Linked DNA regions of Homo sapiens: regions 1, 2, 3 and 4 are each linked to region 5. Evidence: promoter capture Hi-C in human tissues and cell types (Jung and others, 2019). All regions are on one chromosome and are shown on one strand. The core of a region is centred on a gene start or on the middle of the fragment in contact, and the rest is flanking DNA. Distances in the headings are between cores, read along the strand shown.

What was found. The method cuts DNA at HindIII sites, captures the fragments that hold promoters and counts their contacts. A contact is called where the count stands out against the background at its distance.
Region 1: a contact is called between a fragment that was not itself captured here and the fragment with the promoter of CYP24A1 in region 5, in 1 of the 25 tissues and cell types used here (spleen).
Region 2: a fragment that was not itself captured here is called in contact with the fragment with the promoter of CYP24A1 in region 5 in 1 of the 25 tissues and cell types used here (spleen).
Region 3: a fragment that was not itself captured here is called in contact with the fragment with the promoter of CYP24A1 in region 5 in 1 of the 25 tissues and cell types used here (spleen).
Region 4: a fragment that was not itself captured here is called in contact with the fragment with the promoter of CYP24A1 in region 5 in 1 of the 25 tissues and cell types used here (small bowel).

Annotation. Positions count from the first base shown.
Region 1 is chr20:52,319,934-52,322,633 of GRCh38, reverse strand. The region is part of intron 3 of LOC105372666 (a long non-coding RNA gene); the gene reads right to left. Among named protein-coding and RNA genes, the nearest start is that of ZFP64, 130 kb to the right of the region's middle. The HindIII fragment of the contact is 6,006 bases long and covers 1-2,700 here.
Region 2 is chr20:53,160,229-53,162,928 of GRCh38, reverse strand. The region is part of intron 1 of TSHZ2 (teashirt zinc finger homeobox 2); the gene reads right to left. Among named protein-coding and RNA genes, the nearest start is that of TSHZ2, 190 kb to the right of the region's middle. The HindIII fragment of the contact is 3,854 bases long and covers 1-2,700 here.
Region 3 is chr20:53,087,995-53,090,694 of GRCh38, reverse strand. The region is part of intron 1 of TSHZ2 (teashirt zinc finger homeobox 2); the gene reads right to left. Among named protein-coding and RNA genes, the nearest start is that of TSHZ2, 120 kb to the right of the region's middle. RefSeq lists a silencer at 1,753-1,979. The HindIII fragment of the contact is 4,369 bases long and covers 1-2,700 here.
Region 4 is chr20:53,071,625-53,074,324 of GRCh38, reverse strand. All of the region lies in intron 1 of TSHZ2 (teashirt zinc finger homeobox 2), which reads right to left. Among named protein-coding and RNA genes, the nearest start is that of TSHZ2, 100 kb to the right of the region's middle. The HindIII fragment of the contact is 3,396 bases long and covers 1-2,700 here.
Region 5 is chr20:54,172,569-54,175,268 of GRCh38, reverse strand. CYP24A1 (cytochrome P450 family 24 subfamily A member 1) reads left to right here and starts at 1,283. Exons shown (of 12, transcript NM_000782.5): 1 at 1,283-1,947; 2 at 2,170-2,360. The coding sequence starts at 1,690. RefSeq lists an enhancer at 1,060-1,653. The HindIII fragment of the contact is 4,712 bases long and covers 1-2,700 here.

The DNA.
Region 1 (2,700 bases), core at 108-2,607, 1.9 Mb after region 5:
CTCAATGGCACTTACCACTGTCTAACTTGTGTTCTTTGGAGACCCATTTTATTATAGTTCAATGAATATGACTAAACCCCAACACAGATCGAGACAACTAATGGTCAATTATTAAGTGAAAAAATAAATATTAGGTGAGAAAACAAAATATGCGTATGTCAAAGACAACCAGGGAATTTTCTTAAGCCATCACTGTAACCATGATTCTAAATCAGGGATTGCAAATGTGTAGCATGTGTGCCATCCTGCATAACTCCAAAATCCATGGCAGACATTACCAATCAACCATGCCTCTCTCTCTCTCTCTGTGTGAACTCCAGCATAACCATGCCTCTAAATCAGGGATTGCAAATATGTAGCATGTGTACTGTCCTGCGTAGCTCCCACACTCATGGCAGACATTACCAATCAATCATGACTTCCTGCCTCCCCAGTCCCTGGCACAATCCAGAAGCCCTCCAACACAGAGCTCTTGGCAGACACTACTAAGCAATTTGGATTACCATGAGATGAAACCCATTGCTTTGCCAGCTTTCCTCCAGTCAGAATTGCTTACTCCTGTTATTTTATATAACTTATTCTAGTCTTCCCTTATTCCTGCTGGCTTCCAGACTTAACGTTTATCCTGGCCTCAACATTTGAACCTAGCACTAGGCATTGCTTCCCATACAACAAGCTCTGCTAGGCACTGACCACAGCTGGGGCCTTTCACTCACCCAAACTGCCTTGGGTAAACTGGCCACTAAGTTCAACCCATGTATAGGACCCCTGCCCTTCCTTTGACACTGTTCCTAGCCCAATTAAAGAAACTCCCATTACGTGCCCATCCAAGAAGCAAGAAACAGACACTTAGGTCAGGATGGTCAAATACATATTGTATAAACGGCCTCTACCCCTTTGCAAGCCCATGGCAAACACTGCTGGTTGACTAACGTCATCTCTTACATGAATGCAGAGGCATCCTCAGAAGTTTTCTTAGCATTAAGACCCCAGACAACCATTAAAAACCAATCTAATTTGCATTTGAGACAAAATTTGCCAGTCATTCTACATAAACCAATGGAAACTCTAGTTCCAAAATCATATAGCCCAGTAGAGTGAATTAGGTTGCAAAGAACCCTCTTGATCCCTGGGAGATTCTTAGGATAAACATAGAATCCAAATGAACCACAGGAGGGTCACAGAAAAGAAGACTAAGGACCCAGCAGAGACCGCTGCCTGATGTACCAAGCACCAACACTGTGGCAGCCTGGAAATGTGGTCCTGATTCAGAGGTCCTGGGTACTGCAAACCTTCTCAAATCCACTTCCTGCTTTACACTGAGGAAATCTTACAAAAATAAAAATTACAATCTGTCACATTACATTACCTCAAAGCATGATGTAACATCATAATTTTTTAAAGCATATGTTTTAATTTATGATGTTGTGTGATGCCACAAAAAGCTTGATTTTCCCTTGAGTACCAATAAATTTTGACAGTGATGGTTTATCCCAAAACTTTGGCAGACTGAAACACAAGGAAGGTTGGCCAAAGATAGGTAGTTAGCCACCACTGAAGAAATGCTTATGAGTCAGTCACCAGGACATCAACCTGTCCTTGTCCTTCAAAAGCTCAAACTCTATAGTCCTGTGCTGTCCAATATGGTAGTCACCATGGCCAGTGAGGATCTGACAGGTGACTAGTCCAAAAATCTAGAAACACTGCAAGTACAGAATATACATCAGATTTGAAAGGCTTAGTACATAAAATATATAATATTTTGTTAATATTTTTTTTTTGAGATGGAGTCTCATTCTGTCACCCAGGATGGAGTGCAGTGGTGCAATCTTAGCTCATTGCAACCTCCCAGGTTCAAGCAACTCTGCTGCCTCAGCCTCCTGAGTAGCTGGGATTACAGGTGCACACCACCATGCACAGCTAATTGTTCTGTGTATTTTTAGTAGAGACCGAGTTTCACCATGTTGGCCAGGCTGGTCTCAAACTCCTGACCTCAGGTAACCCACCCGCCTTGGCCTTCCAAAGTGCTGGGATTACAGGCATGAGCCACCACACCCGGCCTTCAGTATTTCTTTATAGCAATGCAAGAATGGACTAATACAAGGTGGAAGATGACACTAGAAGGGGGAATGAGCATATTTTGATCTTATATGGCAGTAGTCAGCAAACTAGGACCGGTGGGCCACATCTGCCTGGTTTTATAAGTAAAGTTTTATTGGAACAGAGCCACACCCATTCGTTTATGCCTTGTTCATGGCTGCTTTCAAACAACAGGGCTGAGGTGTAGCAACAGAGATGTTGTGGTCAAGAAGTTCAGAGATTGGCAGATTAATTCCCATAGTGTCAACCAAACCAAGTCCTAAATGCCTAGCATGGTGTCCTTCATCTTAAAGACAGAAAAGTGGGAGTTTATGGGGATTTTTGGAGAGGATGGTTTTTTTTTTTTTGACAGAGTCTTGCTCTGTCGCCCAGGCTGGAGTGCAGTGGTACGATCCCATCTCACTACAACCTCCACCTTCGGGGTTCAAGTGATTCTCCTGCCTCGGCCTCCCGAGTAGCTGGGATTACAGGCATGCACCAAAATGCCCAGCTAATTTTTGTATTTTTAGTAGAGACAGGGTTTCACCATGTTGGTAGGCTGGTCTCGAACTCCTAAACTCAAGTGATCCACCTGCCTTGGCCTCCCAAAGTGCTGGGATT
Region 2 (2,700 bases), core at 31-2,530, 1.0 Mb after region 5:
GGAAATAAACTGGTTAAAAGTAAGTAGATGTTATATTTATAACTGACGAAGGTCATTTTAAACCTGCTTCCAACTCTGAAATTAACTTTCTTATTTTCTCCCCCTCCCCCGCTTTGTAAAGAAAACAATCAGCAGATGTCTCTGCAGTTAATAGTTAGAATGTGCAAGGTAACAGCATTAGAAAGCTACATCTCTGCCTCTATACCCACTTTTCCTGGAGCATAGCCCCTCCTTTCCCATGCAACACCCCCACTAATGAATTCCCAGAGTACCCTGTATTTTAACATCTACAAGGACAAGGAAGGCAGGATTGATGGCCCTGCAGTCACGTCCTGGGCTGACACTGGCAGTGGAAGGTAACTCATGCTTAGCACTTGACGTAATTTTTTGATGACTGAAACCTGATCCCATCGACCGATCCCCTAGTGGCTGATCTCATCTCTTTACCATCAGAGAAACTGAAGTCGAGTTACCAGGAAAGATACAAAAGAGGAAGCGAGTGGGCAACGTCTCAGCATAGAAAGGAGTAAGCTTGTGTTTGATCTTTTGTCCAAAGAACATTCCTAATTCTCACAAATGGGATGGCCGAACCCAAAACATTGCGGCAGCCAGTCCTTCCCTCCCCGCCCCATCCCTGGCCGGGCCAAATTCTTCTGAGCTGGGTGTCCGTGAAGTTCTTTAGAGGAAACTACAAGTTTGTTATTTTTTTCCTTCAGTTGTGATTTTGAGGCGAGTCTCTTTTATTTATAAAATTGAGAAGAAAAGAATAATGCAATCCACAAAACACTCTTGGAAGGGTTAGAAAAATAAACATCATAAACAATGGCAATAAAAATGAGCCTTTAATGAGTATTTTGAGCCAGGAACTGGAGGCAGATGACAAGGGTTGAGGTTCAGATTTGCCATATAGTCACTATGTGACTCCAAACAAGTTGCTTTTCCTCCCTAAGCCTCACTTTACTAATCTGAGAAGTGATAATAATTGTACCCATTCATTGGTGAAGATTAAAGGAAAAGGACCTAAGGTGGATATACAGTGCCTGAGATATAGTAATTGTTTATAGAAGTGTGATATTTCTCTACTCTAACTCAAATAATATCACTCATTTACTTAAAACCCTATGATATGGTTTGGTTCTGTGGCCCCACCCAAATATCACCTGGAATTATAATCTCCACGTGTTGAGGCAGGTACCTGGTGGGAGGTGATGGTATCATGCGGGCGGATTCCTTCATGCTGTTCTCATGATAGTGAGTTGAGTTCTCACAACATCTGATGGGTTTATAAGTGTTTGGCAGTTCCTCTTTCGCTTGTACTCTCTTTTCCTGCTGCCTTATGAAGAAGTTACTTGATTCTCCTTTGCCTTCTGCCATGACTGTAAGTTTCCTGAGGCCTACCCAGCCATGCAGAACTGTGAGTCAATTACATCTCTTTCCTTTATAAATTACCCAGTCTCAGGTAGTATTTTTATAGAACTGTGAAAACGGACTACTACACATGTAAGGCTTTCTATCACAGAGAATGAAATTAAAACTCCTTACCATGAGCTACAAAGCCCTGTCTCATCAGTCTGAGTGCTCCCCGTCATGTTCACCCTCCTCCCACCCATGGGTCTTTCCTCCAACCCTGTGGCACACCTCTTTTGCTCTCACCTCAGGATCTTTGCACTGCCTAGAACACTCATTCCGCAGACATTCATTTGGCTGGGTTTTTCCTCAATAATGAGCTCTCAAGTCAAATACCACTCCATCAGATAGCCTTGCATTACCTCCTATTTTTTTTTTTTTTTTTTTTTTTGCTGAAAATAACCAGAGTTGGTTTCTGTCATGTACAATCAAAGGAGTCTAATGGAACCAAGTAGCAATGTTCTCGAAAACAAACAAACAAAAAACCCCAAACATTTTGCTGTTTCTTTCCCCTCTGTATTTGCTAACTTTATCATGACTTTATTCTTAAAGCCTATCACTGGTCTGCTTTTATTAATAGATTAGTGGAAATTTTCACCTGGCCTATTAGCACCTTATAAAGAAATAGATTAAGAGTAGGGAATATATAGATGAAGATGTACATTCAAAGAAGATGGGCCTATGGTGAGCAAAAGAAAAATGTTTCCAGAGGTGTAGTTTGCCACATGGTTCATCTAGAAAGGGCAAACTGAAATGTCTTTTTTTTTTTTTTTTTTGGAGACAGAGTCTTGCCCTGTCACCCAGGCTGCAGTGCAGTGGCACAATCTCAGCTCACTGCAACCTCCACCTCCCGGGTTTAAGAGATTCTCATGCCTTAGGTGTGCACCACCATGCCAAGTTAATTTTTGTATTTTTAGTAGGGACAGGGTTTTGTCATGTTGGTCAGGCTGGTCTTGAACTCCTGGTCTCAAGTGATCTGTCTACCTCAGCCTCCCAAAGTGCTGGAATTACAGGCATGAGCCACTGCCCCCGGCCCTGAAAATGTCTGTCTTATTACTGCACTTGTGCATGCTTTACTTGGCTCCAGCAATACTGTAAATGCCTGAACTGAACAACAGATGATTATGGAACACAGAGAAGAGATACTTTGCACGACTAGGGATTAGACTCGGCATAGCCATAAGGGATTTGATGTGGACTCCTGAACCCATGAAGGTGAAAGATCATCCCATAAAAAACTACCACCCCCTTTAGCCCTTTCAATGTTTTCCATTTTCTTAGGATGGAGAATAA
Region 3 (2,700 bases), core at 64-2,563, 1.1 Mb after region 5:
AGGAAGCCACCTCAAAGCACACCTGGGCTTGTGGGCTCGGAGACCCTTGCAAGCAAGCTGCTGTCAGCTGCTCCATTTTGGCAGACGGGGAAATGGTGCACCTCAGTCTTACAGAGGTGCACTCCATTCCAAACCCAGCCAAAGTTCATGTCTGAATTCTGCTGCTTAAAATCTTTCAATTGGAAGGAACTCCTCACTCTGTCTCATGGCTTTCAAATTCCAGCAAACCTATTCCCCCATGGCTTCATGCCCTGACTCTCTCCACCCTATTCTCAACCCCAGTCAGAATGGTCTCCTTCGTATTTGTGACAGTTAATATTGAGTGTCGATTTGATTGAATTGAAGGACGCCAAGTATTGTTTCTGGGGGTGTCTGTGAGGGTGTTGACAAAGGAGATTAACATTGGAGTCAGTGGTGTGGGAGAGGCAGACCCACCCTCAGTCTGGGTGGGCACCATCTAGTCAGCTGCCAGCACAGCTACAATAAAGCAGGCAGGAGAAGATGGAAAGAGCAGATTTGCTGAGTCCTCTGGCCTTCATCTTTCTCCTGTGCTGGATGCTTCCTGCTCTCAAACATCAGACTCCAAGTTCTTCAGCTTTTGGACTCTTAGACTTACAACACTTGTTTGCCAGGGGCTCTTGGGCCTTCGGCCACAAACTGAAGACTGCACTGTCAGCTTCCCTACTTTTGAGGTTTAGGGATTTGGACTGATTTCTTTGCTCCTCAGCTTGCAGATGGCCTATTGTGGGACTTCACCTTGCAATTGTGAGTCAATTCTCCTAATAAACTCCTCTTGATATATACATCTATCCTATTAGTTCTGTCCCTCTGGAGAACCCTGATTAACACAGGATTCTTGGGCGCTCCCCAGGCCTTCCTCAGTAGGGTCTGGGCACTTGCTATTTCCTTTGACTGAAAGGTTCTTTTCTTGTTCTTCATGTAGACAGTTTATTCTCACCCTTTGAGACTTATCTAAAATGTCACCCTATCAGGGAGTTCTCTTATAGCCACGTATCTTATGATCTAGCTTTTTAATCTTCATAGCTATTATTACTGTGTGAAAAATCATATTTATGTGATTAAATGGTTAATGTCAGTCCCTCCAAAGGGGCTGTGATTTTTCTCAAGGGCAAATCTTTTCTCAGTCACTATGTTATCCCAAATGCCAAGTACAGTGCCTGGCATGTAATAGATACTTCATAAAGTTTTTGTTGAATAAATAAATGGACTTACGAAGACCAGCTTTCCAAATCTTGGAAAAATCCCTACTTATCTCTTTCTATTACGGTGCAAAATGTACATTCCCTTTACAACTTCTTTGCCAGCCTGGAAGTTGGAAAAACTCTGTTTAATAAAAAAAAAAAAAAAAAAAAAGAAAATCCCATTCCTGTACCTGTCACTGCTGGGTTAAACAAGTTCACTTAAGATTTTTTTCTCTGTGTGGGCTTTCCTCAGGCCCTATAGATGTGCCACGTATGTTTTATGAGCTAACATTTATTTTCGACACTTTGGCCTATTGGACATGATCTCGTAAGCCTGAACTCTCAGCTGACATGCTGTTGAACATAATGGGGAGATTTAAAAAGGTATCACCAAGGAGTAGAGAGGATTGCGGAGCGCCAGGGGCGAGGAGGAGGTGGTTGAGATGAGCCACGGAAAGCTTTCACACTGTTCTCCCTGGCAGTCAAGGAGCCGTTGCTATGATGTGCAGTCTCAGCACGTGCATCCTGAGCCAGCCGAAGAATGCAGAACAACCTAATTGCTATCCTTGGAACTCAGTGCTCCCAATAAACTTGAAAGCTGAATAGCAACATTTCACAAACAGAGCTGCAGCCTCCTAGCTAGGTGAGCGGCAGTGGAGTCTCTGCATTGCTGTGTGGTACTCTGGATGGAATCCACAGGTCTCGGAAATGCCAAAGCACTCTCTTTCTCAGACAGAGTGAGCCTTCAATTAATTACAAAAACTAGACATTGAAAATATGCCATATGTCAATCCATAGTGGAATTCATATGGGGGAAAGGGAAGTTTTAAAGGTTTCTGAAAGCCATCAAATCTCCATTTAGATAGAATTCTTCAAAAAAATATGAATTTAGTTATTCATTTGCACGGGGTAAATTTTTCAATTTAGCGGAACAAAGGCAACTACAACTTGGCATTTAAAAACTTGGGAGAGTTGACAACAGCAGGACGGAGGGCCAACGCTGAGATCCTCAATTCCATTCAAATCACATAATCAGTTAATGCCAATTTGTTGCTAGTGCTTTAAAGTCAGAAACAAACAGGGCCCTTAAAGGATTTCCCTCCATAGTACCCAACAAAATTACTCATTGCAATTTCCTGTATGATAATTTTTTAAAATGTCTGTCTAACTCCAGTAGACTATAAATTCCATGAGAGCAGAATTGTGTACATTCTGTTCACTTTTGAGTTCCCAGAGTTGAATCCAGTGCTTCATATATAGTAAGTTCCCAACAAAAACTTACTAAATGAATCAAATTAAGCCCCAGTGCTGGACCTCAAGAAGCTCTCTGTTCAGTAGGAAACAGGTAAGAAAACAAAAGGATTTCAGCAATAGGTGATGAGTCCCAGAGCAGAACTATGCCCAGGATACTTATGGGACAACAGAGCAGGAAGCTGAATTCATCTTGAAGACAGACATGGGGTAATAGAATGCTTCCAAGAGGGGGCAAAGCTTAAGT
Region 4 (2,700 bases), core at 14-2,513, 1.1 Mb after region 5:
GACTGATACTTAGGACATAATTTCAGCAATGTGGTAACTTCTATTTCCAAGTACAATACAGGGTATTGTGAGAAGAAAGTGAAACATTTAACTTCTTACTCAAAGGAAGAATCCTCTAACTTCACAAGGGAGTGGTCAAGGAGGGCTCCATTGAGAAGGCGACATTTGAACAGCAGTTTAAAAGATACATAAGAGTTCACCAAGGATGTCATGAAGGTGAGAGACAGTTGTATGTACATGTCTTTTACAATGCTAGAATTGCGAAGTCAGTTTTTTAGTTTCTTTTCACTGCAGCCAGACTGAAGATCCTTGAAATTTGAAATTAGAAAGTGTGGAAGCACCTCACACATCACCAGGCATCCCAAAGTATGTAGCAAAATCCTGCCCCCAAGAAATCCTGAAACAAATCTGTATAATTAATAGTGTCTACTTTTAGCTAATGTATAGTATAAGTAACAAACACTGAGGTCAGTGGAAAACTATAATTAAACATGCATGTCTCAAAGTTAAAAATGTACATCAATCAACCCAGGCCTAAAACTGAAAATAGACCAGTTTTTTTTTTTAACTTGACGGAATGGAGTTAATAAAAGATGAGAACCACTCTTTTCAACTATCAAAACAGTGTTCCTGGACTGTTGAAAAGCATCCATTAGCTCATCCCGTATCATCCCCTTCCTTTTAAAAAATAATAATTTCATTGTTAAAATGACTCATACTTACTGTATTTAAGTAATAGAGAAAATTATAAAGAAGAAAGTTTTAAAATCATTCAGTAGCCCAGCATCTAGAAATTACTCTAACCTTCAGTTAATTATATTTCAGATGTGTCTCTATCCATATGTGTAAATGGAAGAATAGAGAAATGGATGAATGGATGGATGGATGGAGGGATAGATGAATGAAGGAATGGAGGGATGGATGAATGGATTAAATGATGAATGGATGGAGGGAGGGAGGGAGGGACAGATGAAGGAATGGAGGGATGGATGAATGGATTAAGGGATGGATGGATGGATGGATGGATGAAGGGATGGATGGATGAATGGAGGGATGGATGGATGGAAGGATAGATGAAGGAAGGAATGGAGGGACAGATGAATGGATTAAGGGATAAATGGATGGAGGGAGGGATGGATGGAGGGATAGATGGATGAAGGAATGGAGGGATGGATGAATGGATTAAGGGATGGATGGAGGAATGGATGAATGGAGGGATGGATGGAAGGAGGGATAGATGAATAAAGGAATGGAGGGATGGATGAATGGATTAAGGAGGAATGGATGGAGGAAGGGATGGATGGAGGGAGGGATGGATGGAGGGAGGGATGGATGAAGGGAGGGATGGATGGAGGGATAGATGGATGAAGGAACGGAGGGATGGATGAATGGATTAAGGGATGAATGGATGGATGAAGGAATGGAGGATTGAATGAATGGATTGATGGATGGATGGGCAGAAGTATATGCCTTTATTGTTTTCAAGGCTAATGGTTGATCCCATTCTAGTGAATTTACCTGCCTCGACCCCCCAGTAAACAGTAAGGAAATGTCCAGTCTCACAGACTCTATTCCCATACTTTCTAGGTTCCAAAAATGGACTTCTCAGAGGAGTCTTGGAAAACCTTCTAGGGATGGTGTCAAAACACCCAAATGAGAAGGAGAAAATGAAGCCAAATCAGTTATTTTTAATCATATTAATTAAAATCTATAAGTAGTTTATCAATTTTATGGGCTCTTACAAATAGAATGGAAACAAGACATTATTTAGATTCACCCCTTTCATGTTGCAATGAGGAATGAGGAGACTAGGAAGGACAATTTTATTTTCCAAGCTTACAAATGAAAAGGGACAGAAGCAGGGCTGCAGAGCAGCTGTGAGCATTCAGTCAATGAATATTTTTATTATTTCTAAGAGAGAAACATAGTAGGACCCCTTTCCCCCAAGTGGTAATTGATATTGCTGGATTATTATGATTTTGTGGTATACCCTGAAGATACTCTTTGCACTTGTATTTGTATACCATGTTGCCTTAAAGAAGCCAAAAACATGGGATGCATCCCTTTAAAAAAAGTCCTTAATGTCATAGAAACAAAAGAATTTCCCAAACTACTTCTGCTCCAACCCAGCTTAGCATCCCCGATGCTTTTCTGTTTGGATTTGTTGGTTAGGAAAACAAACCCCAGCTACTACAGCATAGCACAGAATATTCCACCGGGGTTCCCCAGCCTCCGCGCGACTGACATTTGGGGCCAGGTGATTCTCTGCTGTGGGGCTGCCCTGTGCATTACGGGATGTTTAGCAGCATCTCTGGTCTCTACCCCACAAGCTGACAGTAAAAGCTCCCATCTGTTTTGACAACCAAAAATGACTCTGCAAATTGCAAAATGCCGGCCTGGGTTGGGGAGCTGGGGCAGTACAGGATCATTCCTGGTTGAGACAACGACAATCCAAAGCCCTCAGTGTCTCCAATAAAACAAGCAAAAGAGATTTTTATAGACAGATACACACAGTACTACTCTCCAGGGGTATTCAGGGGACATGACTTCACGGACGTCCCTGGATGCAGGGGAGAGGAAAAAGATCTTGGATAAGCAATAAAACCCATGTCACCTGTGATGGGTCACAGAAGTCAGCTCTGGGTTCTCCCGACCCACAGCTTTAAGAACTACAAGCAAGAACACGTAGGTCCGTGAGAT
Region 5 (2,700 bases), core at 34-2,533:
GATGGTGTTAAAGCTTAAGTTGGACTGCAAAAGATTTTTAAGAAACAAACTAGAGGCTTACAAAAGAATTTACCAGGGAAGGATTTGCCAACACTTGGGGCAAAAATGACTGAGACACGTAATTGAAAAGCAGGGCGAGGAAACAGAATGTCCCTCCCCTCCTCCCTGGCTGGTGGTAGTTTTGTATTGGATCAGGTTGAAAGGATTCGAGCCACTTTAAAACAATCAACAAAAATCTCCAACTTCCGTTCCTGAATTAGCAAAGCGAGTTCTACTCTTGCCAGCCGCGGTAACTCTAGAAATTGTGTATGTTTGTCACTGGACCTGCCTAGGACGCACCTTGGGGGAGAGGGGGAGTACTGGGGGCGGTGGTTTCAAGCTCTGTGTGCCCCTCCTTTGCACAAGGTAGTCGGTGTAGAAGAACAGAGGCGGGCAGTGGACATAGGGGAGGTGGCCCAGCCTGAATTCAAGCATCGTTGGTGCAAGCCACGCTCTCAAGGCGCATTTCCTAACTTCCTAAAGAAGTAACAACAGCAACTAACTTTTATTGACTGTTGACTATAGACAAGGCTTCGTTGTTGCCGCTTTACGTGCATTAATTCATTTAATCTGCAAAACAACCAAACATGAAACAGCAGGAAGGAAATTCTACAAACTCCCCTTCTTGCTCAAGTTAAGAAAGTCTCCTCTTCTGGTGCATTTCAGTAAGACTCAAATCCTCCCCACCCTGGGAGGCGCAGAAAGCCAAACTTCCTCCAAAAAAAAAAAGGCAAAAAAAAAAAAAAAATCACTTCAGTCCAGGCTGGGGGTATCTGGCTCCCCGGGAGGCGCCCGGGCTCCCCGGGGCCCTGGCAGACGCCGGCAGCTTTTCTGGGCCCGCACTCGGGGACCTCGCCCGCCCGGCATCGCGATTGTGCAAGCGCCGGGCGGCAACCACGGCCGCCGCTGCCGGCTCCTGCCCGCCGGGGGAGGGCGGGGAGGCGCGTTCGAAGCACACCCGGTGAACTCCGGGCTTCGCATGACTTCCTGGGGGTTATCTCCGGGGTGGAGTCTGCCGCCCCCACCCCACCTCCCGCGCCCAGCGAACATAGCCCCGGTCACCCCAGGCCCGGACGCCCTCGCTCACCTCGCTGACTCCATCCTCCTTCCACCCCCCCTCCCCTGGGTCCCGCGTCCCTCGGAGTCTGGCCAGCCGGGGGCCACTCCGCCCTCCTCTGCGTGCTCATTGGCCACCCAGGGCATGCTCTGTCTCCATAAATGCATGGTCCCTGGGCATAGGAACATGGAGAGGGACAGGAGGAAACGCAGCGCCAGCAGCATCTCATCTACCCTCCTTGACACCTCCCCGTGGCTCCAGCCAGACCCTAGAGGTCAGCCTTGCGGACCAACAGGAGGACTCCCAGCTTTCCCTTTTCAAGAGGTCCCCAGACACCGGCCACCCTCTTCCAGCCCCTGCGGCCAGTGCAAGGAGGCACCAATGCTCTGAGGCTGTCGCGTGGTGCAGCGTCGAGCATCCTCGCCGAGGTCCTTTCTGCTGCCTGTCCCGCCTCACCCCGCTCCATCACACCAGCTGGCCCTCTTTGCTTCCTTTTCCCAGAATCGTTAAGCCCCGACTCCCACTAGCACCTCGTACCAACCTCGCCCCACCCCATCCTCCTGCCTTCCCGCGCTCCGGTGTCCCCCGCTGCCATGAGCTCCCCCATCAGCAAGAGCCGCTCGCTTGCCGCCTTCCTGCAGCAGCTGCGCAGTCCGAGGCAGCCCCCGAGACTGGTGACATCTACGGCGTACACGTCCCCTCAGCCGCGAGAGGTGCCAGTCTGCCCGCTGACAGCTGGTGGCGAGACTCAGAACGCGGCCGCCCTGCCGGGCCCCACCAGCTGGCCACTGCTGGGCAGCCTGCTGCAGATTCTCTGGAAAGGGGGTCTCAAGAAACAGCACGACACCCTGGTAAACCCCTTTTCGCGCCCCTGACTCTCTCCTCCCTCTTCCGCCCTCCCAGTGGCGCTCCAAACCCTCCCCGACATGCGCGCCTCGGGCGCATGGTGCGCTTCGGCGTCTGGGCAGGGAGGGTCCCCGGTCCCCTAGGAGGAAGGAGGCGGGAGGAGGGAAAGCGCTTCGGGCACGGCGGAGGATGCGCGCTGACACCGCGCTGTGCCCGGCCGGCTGCAGGTGGAGTACCACAAGAAGTATGGCAAGATTTTCCGCATGAAGTTGGGTTCCTTTGAGTCGGTGCACCTGGGCTCGCCATGCCTGCTGGAAGCGCTGTACCGCACCGAGAGCGCGTACCCGCAGCGGCTGGAGATCAAACCGTGGAAGGCCTATCGCGACTACCGCAAAGAAGGCTACGGGCTGCTGATCCTGTGAGTCCAATCCGAGGGACCTGGGCATGCGGCCAGACCTGATGAGCCTGACGGCGCCTGGAAATTGTGAAGAGGCGGAGTTAGAGTTCCCTGGGGTTGGAAGCTTCTTACGTAGGGCGGATACCAAAGCCCCTCTCCCGTGCCATCGCAACCCTGAGCTCTTGTACAGATTAGAGTCGGTCCACGGAAAAGCCGTGCTGTGCACCCAGCACCTGCGTTCTCTCTGGCAACAGGGCAGGGCCACACCCTCCCATCAAAGAAACGCCAAAACAGGGTTGTACCAACTGTGGTGTTCAGACTCTTGGGCAGGATGAGGTTCTGAAGTCAGCGTACCAGGCAA